Linked DNA regions of Homo sapiens: region 1 is linked to region 2. The links are contacts of gene promoters, found by promoter capture Hi-C in blood cells and fetal thymus (Javierre and others, 2016). All regions are on one chromosome and are shown on one strand. The core of a region is centred on a gene start or on the middle of the fragment in contact, and the rest is flanking DNA. Distances in the headings are between cores, read along the strand shown.

What was found. Contacts are between HindIII fragments. The CHiCAGO score rates a contact against its expected background, and 5 or more counts as called.
Region 1: the fragment with the promoter of NECAP2 here is called in contact with the fragment with the promoter of AGMAT in region 2 in 3 of 17 cell types (fetal thymus, non-activated CD4 T cells and activated CD4 T cells); the score reaches 6.7 in fetal thymus.

What each region holds. Positions count from the first base shown.
Region 1 is chr1:16,438,931-16,443,385 of GRCh38, forward strand. NECAP2 (NECAP endocytosis associated 2) reads left to right here and starts at 1,794. Exons shown (of 8, transcript NM_018090.5): 1 at 1,794-1,923. The coding sequence starts at 1,832. The HindIII fragment of the contact is 8,327 bases long and covers 346-4,455 here.
Region 2 is chr1:15,582,367-15,587,016 of GRCh38, forward strand. It overlaps AGMAT (agmatinase (putative)), which reads right to left and starts at 2,685. Exons shown (of 7, transcript NM_024758.5): 1 at 2,330-2,685; 2 at 827-1,029. The coding sequence starts at 2,601. RefSeq lists an enhancer at 2,178-2,227 and a silencer at 2,338-2,667. The HindIII fragment of the contact is 7,120 bases long and covers 1-4,650 here.

The DNA of each region.
Region 1 (4,455 bases), core at 544-3,043, 860 kb after region 2:
CTACATGAAAGAACCTTGAAAACTTGATGCTAAGTGAAATAAGAAACACAAAAGCCCAATATTGTATGATTCCACTTATAAGAGGTATCTAGAAAAGGCAAATTCATAGAGACAGAAAGTAAAACAGAGGTTACTAAGGGATGGAGCAGAAGGAAATGGGAAGTTATTGCTAATGGGTGTGGAGTTTCTGTTTGGGATGATGAAAAGTTCTGGAAAGCATGATATAGTTGCACAATATTGTGAATGTACTTAATTTCACAGCATTGTACACTTAAAATGGTAAATTTTATGTTATGTATATTTTACAATAAAAATGTAAGTGGTTAGATCAATCCTATAATAAAAAGCTTATAAAAAATGAGTAGAAATGGCCAGTCGTGGTGGCTCACGCCTGTAATCCCAGCACTTGGGAGGCCGAAGTGGGCGGATCACTTGAGGTCAGGAGTTCAAGATCAGCTTGGCCAACCAGATGAAACCCCCGTCTCTACCAAAAAAATACAAAAACTAGCCAGGCTTGGTGGTGGGTGCCTGTAATCCCAGCTACTCGGGAGGCTGAGGCAGGAGAATCGCTTGAACCCGGGAGGTGGAGGTTGCAGTGAGCCGAGATTGCACCACTGCACTCCAGCCTGGGCGGCAGAGTGAGACTTTGTCTGAAGAAAAAAAAAAAAAAAAGTAAAAAGGAGAAGGAGAGTGAGAGAGAAAAGGAAAGAAGGGGTGGGGAAAGTTTGGGGTATTCAGTGAATCAGAAGTTTGGGATCAGCTTCACCCCCACATAGGGGCTGGCACATTGCAGGCACTCAACTCAATGAGAGAATGGTAGGGAAGGAGGGATTTTGAGAATTTGGCTAGGGTAGACATTGTATCTCCCAGAATATTCTGGGAGAAATCGAAGTTAAGACTGGAATTCTTCTTCTTCTTTTTTTTTTTTTTTGAGACAGAGTCCCGCTCTGTCACCCAGGCTGAGGTGCAGTGGCACAATTTCAGCTCACTGCAACTTCCGCATTCCGGGTTCAAGCGATTCTAGTGCCTCAGTCTCCCAACTAGCTAGGACTACAGACACACGCCACCAAGCCCGGCTAATTTTTGTATTTTTAGTAGAGACGGGGTTTCACCATGTTGGCCAGGCTGGTCTCGAACTCCTGACCTCAGGTGATCCGCCCGCCTCAGCCTCCCAAAGTGCTGGGATTACAGGCGTGAGCTACCAAGCCCGGCCTGGAATTCTTCTTAAATTACTTGTGTTACTAAACTTTACTTCTTTGAATACAACTCGTTGTTGAGGTTTGGCCACACGGGGCCCTGAGCATATAAGTGGGTTCCCCTAGGGGAAGCATGGAGGGTGGTAGGGTAATGGCATCTATTTAGTCTGGTGGGTCAGGTGCCAGCTGAGCCTTACAGTCAGGAGAGGGAAGGATATTCAGGCAGAGGAGGCGCCGAGGCAAAGGCTGGAGGACAGAGATACTGCAGGGTGGGCTACAGCTTTGCCTCTCGGTCAACTGGGCCCCAGGCCTAAGAAACTGAAGCGATGGGGATGATCCACACCCAGACCACGGGTTACAGAGGGGTCTGTCCATGGCGGGCGCAGGGCGCTTTCTTTGCGTCGGAGGGTGTCTGGAGGGAAGGAGAAGCCTCTGGAGGGAGGGAGAAGCCTCCGGAGGTCGCCCGCCACGTGTCTTGAGCCGGGTTTCCAGCAGAGGGCGCACAAACGAGGCGGTGCTGAGGCCCGCGAGCTGCCGCTCTAGCCGAAACCTGGTCAGAGAGTCGCACCGCTTCCGTCCGTCGGACAGAGGAACGGTGGAAGTCGCCGGAAGTTCGGTGGGCTCCAGGCGTCGCGATGGAGGAGAGCGGGTACGAGTCGGTGCTCTGTGTCAAGCCTGACGTCCACGTCTACCGCATCCCTCCGCGGGCTACCAACCGTGGCTACAGGTGACTACCCACCGCCAGACCAGGCTAGCTCCAATTTAACCCTTTCTCCGCCACCCGGACACACCCACTGCGGGAACCGAGGACAGCCCTGGCCAGTTTTGGGGCGAGGGGGAGCTAATGCTGCTGCTTCTTCCAGTTCCAGGCCCGAGCAGGGAGGTGGATCCAGAGTTTCGCCCGTCTCAGTTCGACGCACGGGACTCCTGGCGGCGGGGAGGGCGTTAAAGCCGTATCTAGCGCTTAGGGACCCCGGTGGGCTGCCGGGTACCCTAAACTTGGTCGGGGGTGGTGATGTCACAGACGCTTCTCTTTCAGCGCTAACCGGTGGCCTTGAAGGGATCCTCGAAAAGCCTTAAGCGGGGAGGTGCCCTATCACAGACGGAAATCCCCGAGAGGAGGGGAGGGAGCCCAGAGCCGGCTGAAAGGACCGGTCCCGGGGAGCTTTAAGGTGACGGTCGAAGCCCAGGGACCCCTTCCTACCCAGATCCCTTCGCACGAATTTCACCCTTGATCACAGCCTGGAGCAGTTGGGAGGACCCCTTCTATATTTCTCTGGTCTCTACCTGAGACGAATAAACACACACGCTTGTAAACATACTGAGTATCTCTGCAAAGGAACACAGGAAACTGCCCTAGGGGAGGGGAACCGCCCTTGGAAGGAAACTTCCTTTCCCTTTTGTGCTGTTTGCGTTTTACTACTCTTTGTATGCGTTATCTATCAAAACGACGAAAAATATTAAAAGAAAAAAGATACACTTCATACAGACAACCTGGCCTATGGCTATTTTGTGCCACTGAGTGGTGGTGGGGAGTGCTCGTATTTGCGGGGGCCTGGGTGGCTCTTGAAGGCGATGGTTGTCCAAGTTTTTCGGAAATACAGGATTGGTCTGCACCCCAAGAATGATGGAACGTCCACATTTCCTCTTGTTACTTTCCAGTTGTGTTACCGTGGGCTCATAGCTGATCTTATGGTGAAAAGATGCGTTAGTGAACATTACATTCATGACATATTTTAAAATAGTATAAAAACAAAAACAACAATAACCAAAATACATTTGTTTTCTGTCATCAAACTGTGGTTGGACCATCAAACCATTGATGGTCGTCTAGCCCCATCTCCTGTTGGGTCTTTTTTTTTTTTTTTTGAGACAGAGTTTCCCTCTTGTTGTCCAGGCTAGAGTGCAATGGTGCGATCTCGGCTCACTGCAACCTCCGCCTCCCGGATTCAAGCGATTCTCCTGCCTCAGCCTCCCGAGTAGCTGGGATTACAGCCATACACCACCACACCCGACTAATTTTGTGTTTTTAGTAGAGATGAGATTTCTCCATGTTGGTCAGGCTGGTCTCGAACTCCCTACCTCAGGTGGTCCACTCGCCTCGGCCTCCCAAAGTGCTGGGATTACAGGCAGGATCCACCGCGCCCGGCCCCCTATTGGGTCTTTAGTAGGATGGATTTGGTTCCTCTTGGTGCCCCAGAGAGCGAGGTTATGAATTGTCAGGGCTGGCTGGTTTAGCTTAGAGGAAACTACCAGTGCCTGCACTTAAGTCTTGGAGCTCTCCTTAGCCTGAATCTCAGGCCTGGTAAGAGGAACAGGAACTGAGTCTGCTGATTTGTGAATTGAGAATCTGCATTTGTGCAGCCCTCAAGACAGCCGCGTCCAGGGTTCTTGAGAACTGGCATAGGGACTTCTAAGAAAAGCCTCCTGGAAACACCTGCGGTTCTTGCTATTTGGGGATTTAACTGACCTTTTCTTAGAACTAAAATGTGAAGTTAATGCTTTAAAAGAGTCAAAACAGCTGGCTGTGGTGGCTCACGCCTGTAATCCCAACACTTTGGGAAGCCTCGGTGGAAGGATCCCTTGAGCCCAAGACTTCAGGACCAGCCTGGGCAACATAGACCCTATCTCTATAATTTTTTTTAATTGGCCTGGTGTGTTGGTACACACCTGTAGTCCCAGCTACTCAGGAGGCTGAGGTGGGAGGATCTCTTGAGCTCAGGAGGTTGAGGCTTCAGTGAGCCGTAGTTGCGCCACTGCACTTCAGCCCGGGTGACAGAGTGAGACCCCGTCTCAAACAAATTAGAGCCAAAAGAGGCATTGCTGTAGGTTCATGGTTTCCTGGGTTTCTTCCTAAGGACCCATTCACTTTTCTCACATGTACTGTTGTTCTCCTTTTCTCTTCTGGTGATTGTTCCATGCTGTCTTTTTCTTTCAAGATAGTCTCACTGGTCTCAAATGGTCGCTCTGACTGCTGCAGTCAAGCAGTGTCAGAAACAGAATCAGGCCCCTGCAGCTGCTGCTTCTATAGAAAGGAAACTGGAAGGAAGTCCTACGTGGAGGAGGACACTGTGGTCTAGAGAGGGGGTCACCAAGTGACAACCCAGTGTGTTTTTGTATGGTTCACACCTAAGAATAGTTTTTACATTTTTTAAATGGTTTGGAAAATTTTTAAAGGAGAGTATTTCATACTGGGAACATTACATGAATTTCAGATTTCAGTGTCTACACTTTGATTGAAATACAGCTGTGCTCAGTA
Region 2 (4,650 bases), core at 1,435-3,934:
ACTGTGATCATTCCCATCTTACAGGTGAGGGTGTGAAGCATCAAGCACGGTATACAGCAACATTGCTAGGGAGAAGTGCAGCTGAGACTTCAAACCATGCCATCGGGAAACCACACTCCTCCCACTATGCCATGCAGGCTAGGCTCTCTAACTTGGCAAAAATGAATTTGGATATTTAGGAAAAGATCCCTGTCATTTTAAGTATTTGTGAACAAGAGAAAAAGTGAGAGTGGGTCAGGGGTGAGGATAAGGGGAAAGCTGCCCTATAGGTTGATGTAGACCCTGAGCAGGACAAAAACACCCTCTTTGCAGTTCTCCTCGCAAATAAAGTCATTAGAAACATCATCTTGGCCAGGCGCGGTGGCTCATGCCTGTAACCCCAGCACTTTGGGAGGCCAAGGTGGGCGGATCACTTGAGGTCAGGAGTTCAAGACCAGCCTGGCCAACATGGCAAAACCCCGACTCTACCAAAAATACAAAAATTAGCCAGGCATGGTGGTGGGCGCCTGTAATCCCAGCTACTTGGGAGGCTGAGGCAGGAGAATTGCTTGAACCCAGGAAGTGGAGGTTGCAATGTGCCGAGATTGCACCACTGCACTCCAGTCTGGGTAACAGAGTGAGACTGTCTCACACACACACATACACACACACGTGAAATATTCTCTCCCCAGGGATTAAAATAAATGAATTACAATGCTCTCTTTCCTACTGTCTGCACATTTGCAGTGGCTTGCAGGGGAGAAGTAGCTGTACTCAAGCCCCTGAGTACAGGATAAGTAAACCCTGAGTGCAGGGAACTACTCTGGCTCTTGCAGACTGACATTACCCAAGGTCAGAGGAATACAGCCAGCTGCTACAATTTTCTCATAGGCCTCTTGAATTCGCCGGCAGCTGTCCTGAAGGTTGTAAAGATTGACATTCACATCGCCTAGGTCTGCAACCATGAGGGACTGGAAGGGGAGGGCCCCCGTGCTAGGATTGACTGTCCCAAGCATCACTGATTCTTCCCGGATGCGGCGAGGTCCGAATCTGCAGAAGGAAGAATCATCCTGTCAGCCATCATCTGCAGAGATTTCAGGCTTTGCTTAGGCCAGGGCTTCTCAGCCTCAGCAATTTGGGGCCAGATGATTCCGTGTCGCGGCATTGCATAATGGAATGCTTAGCAGCATCCCGGCCTGTACTCACTAGGTGCCAGTAGCACCCTTCCTCCAAGGTGTAACAACCCAAAACGCCTCCAGATACTGCCAAATGTCCCCGGAGTGCAAAACCGCCCCACTTGAGAATCACCGATCTAGGCTATGTATCGAAGAGACTAAATAAGTGTACTAAATGGCATTAGTGAATTTCATGATCTACCTGAGTCTCAGTTTCCTAATTTGTAAAATATTTACCTTGCACTGTAGTAAAAATTAAATGAGGTAATCTATGCAAAGCACCTTGCACTTAGGAGACATTTAATAAGTGCTGGCTTTCATAATTCAGATCAGTACGGTCAGATATAGTGTTGCTGAGCTGAATCAGAAATTGCTGACGTTCAATAACTAGGAAGATGAATTTTGCTTCCTCCGACTTGATCCTAGGAAAATTGCCTTCATTTGAGCATTTCTTGAGTCAGGTGACATCTTCAGATTTGGGGAAGGGGCAGCCAGTTTCTGCTCTCAAATGCAATGTCACCTGCCACTGTAAGCTGGGGAGAGGAGAGGGGAGGAATCCACAGCAGCCATCCCAGCAAGGCCCCAGGATGGGGACACAGAGAAGGTTCAGGCTCCAGAATCCCTTCTTTTTTCTTTTTTTGAGACGGAGTCTCACTCTGTTGCCCAGGCTGGAGCGCAGTGGCGCAATCTCAGCTCACTGCAACCTCCGTCTCCCGGGTTCAAGCGATTCTCCTGCCTCAGCCTCCCGAGTAGCTGGGATTACAGGCCCGCGCCACCATGCCCGGCTTTTTTTTTCTTTTTTTTGTACCTTTGTAGAGACAGAGTTTCACCATGTTGGTCAGGATGGTCTCGAACTCCTGACCTCGTGATCCGCCCGCCTCAGCCTCCCAAAGTGCTGGGATTACAGGCATGAGCCACCGGGCCGGCCAAAATCCCTTCTTGACCAATGATGACACTAAGATGTGGGAGGCCACGCCCATGTTGAGCCCTGGGGTTTGCTTATTGAGGGTCCAGGTAAATCAACCATCTCAAACCATAAGGGGCATTTTGGAGCCGGCCACCAGCTTCCAACTCGACCCGGGGCCAGCAGGGGCGCCTGTCTCGGTGCTTTCCATGCCCGACAGCCAGCAAGCAGTCCCTCCACGTGTACCCGGCCCCCGTCCTTCCGGCCTTACCTCGCCCCAGGCCGGTTGGAGGTCCCAGTATCCAGGGGCACCCCGATGAAGGCAGCGTCCAGCCCCTCGGGGGAGGTCTGCACCGGCAGGCGCATCATGGAGCAGACGCCCACCGGCCGGGCCACGAACTCGGGGCTGGGGGGCTGGTTCCGGGGCGCGTCGGAAGCCTGGCGGCTCTGGCGGCGCCCCGGATGAAAGAGCCCTGCGGCAGGACGCGCGCCCACGCCGGGCCCCGGGCCCCGGGCGCACCCGGACGCCAGCAGCCTCAGCATTGCCGCGCGCGGCCAAGACCTCACCGACCAAACCGCCCGCGAGGCCGCCGCGATCTGGCTGGTCCCGAACGGCGAGGCGAGTGTGCACGCGCCAGAGCCGGAACCCGAGCCGGCTCAAAGGTCAGGGGCGCCCTAGGATCAAGGCGGGGGAGGGGCCCCAGGACCTGCCGTGCTCTCCCCTCAACCCCTCTGGACTTCAGCCTCTGGCAAATAGAGTCAGGCTGGGGGTGCCCACTGGCCGGCACTGTGCCAGGGGTGTCTGCGCCCTGCTCCCCACTGTGGCCTTCAGCAGCCTCTTCTCCCATTCAGAGTAATTGTTTGTTTTTATAGAGACGGTCTCACTGTGTTGCCCAGACTGGTCTCCAACTTCTGGACTCAAGTGATTCTCCCACCTTGGCCTCCCAAAGTGCTGGGATTACAGGTGTGAGCCACAGCAGCCACCCCAGAGTAATATTTTTAAAGCCAGAAAGATATGAAGGAAAATGATCTTTCTCTAAGCCAGAAAAATAGGAAATGCATTTTTTTAAATAATGTATTTTTAAATGTCCAGGGATAGGAATCTCAAGAAGCAGTAAAGTTAGTTAGCTACTTAGCTAGCTAGCTAGTTATTTTGAGACAGGGTCTTGCTGTGTTGCTCAGGCTGGAGTGCAGTGGCACAATCATAGCTCACTGCAGCCTCAAACTGCTGGGCTCAAGCAATCGTCTCACCTCAGCCTCCCGAGTAGTTGGGACTACAAGCGTGAGCCATCGCGCCTGGCCAGTAAAGTCTTTTTAAATAACCTTGTTAAAAAAGGACTAGAGGCCAGGGGCGGTGGCTCACGCCTGTAATCCCAGCACTTTGGGAGGCTGAGGCGGGCGGATCACGAGGTCAGGAGATCGAGACCATCCTGGCTAACACGGTGAAACCCCATCTCTACTAAAAGTACAAAAATTTAGCCGGGCATGGTGGCAGGTGCCTGTAGTCCCAGCTACTTGGGAGGCTGAGGCAGGAGAATGGCATGAACCCGGGAGGCGGAGCTTGCAGTGAGCTGAGATCAGGCCACTGCACTCCAGCCTGGGCAACAGAGCAAGACTCCGTCTCAAAAATAAATAAATAAATAAATAAATAAATAAATAAATAAATAAAGGACTTACAGGCAAGCTGTAAGGAAGGTCACAGTGCCAGAGAACCTGTTACATCCTCTTTATTTCTAAGGGGAAAGAAAAACACACGTGGAAAGAAAGAAGTGATTTGTAATGGAATTATGTGAGCCATTTAGCAGTATTATATATATTATTTTTTCTGATCTCTAAATGTTGAGATTGAATGGAAAAGGCTCACATTTGCATTTACGTTGCAACCTCTACACAAAGGTTGCACATTAGGCCAGGCGCGGTGGCTCACACCTGTAATCCCAGCACTTTGGGAGGCCGAGGTGGGCGGATCATGAGGTCAGGAGATGAGACCATCTTGGCTAACATGGTGAAACCCCATCTCTACTAAAAATACAAAAAATTAGCCAGGCGTGGTGGTGGGCACCTGTAGTACCAGCTACTCGGGAGCCTGAGGCGGGAGAATGACGTGAACCCGGGAGGGTGGAGTTTGCAGTGAGCCAAGATCGCGCCACTGCACTCCAGCCTGGGCAACACAGCAAGACTCTGTCAAAAAAAAAAAAAAAGGTTGCACATTAAACCCCACACCACTCCAGCCTCCACTCTGGAGTGGAGCCTCCACTCTGCAGGTCGGGACAGAGTTTCCTAATGGTCAATTATCAGTGCTTAGTGTTGGCCTTGGGGCAGGTCCCAGCCATTTTCTGGAACAAATGCAACAATCTCTCAGTTATTTTTTCCTTTTTTTCTCCCTTATGCCACTTAAAGGGTCTCAGTTATTCTCTTGACTCCCAAATTCAACTGCTATTTCTTTCATGTTGCTTGTCCTGAATGTATCATGTTCTTACTCCGGGTTTTTCTTTCATTCAGCTCACAAATATTGAGTGTCCGCTATGTGCCAGGCGTTCCAATGAGGTGTCCCCAACATCCACTACTGCTGAGCACCCTCTCTCCTTGAAA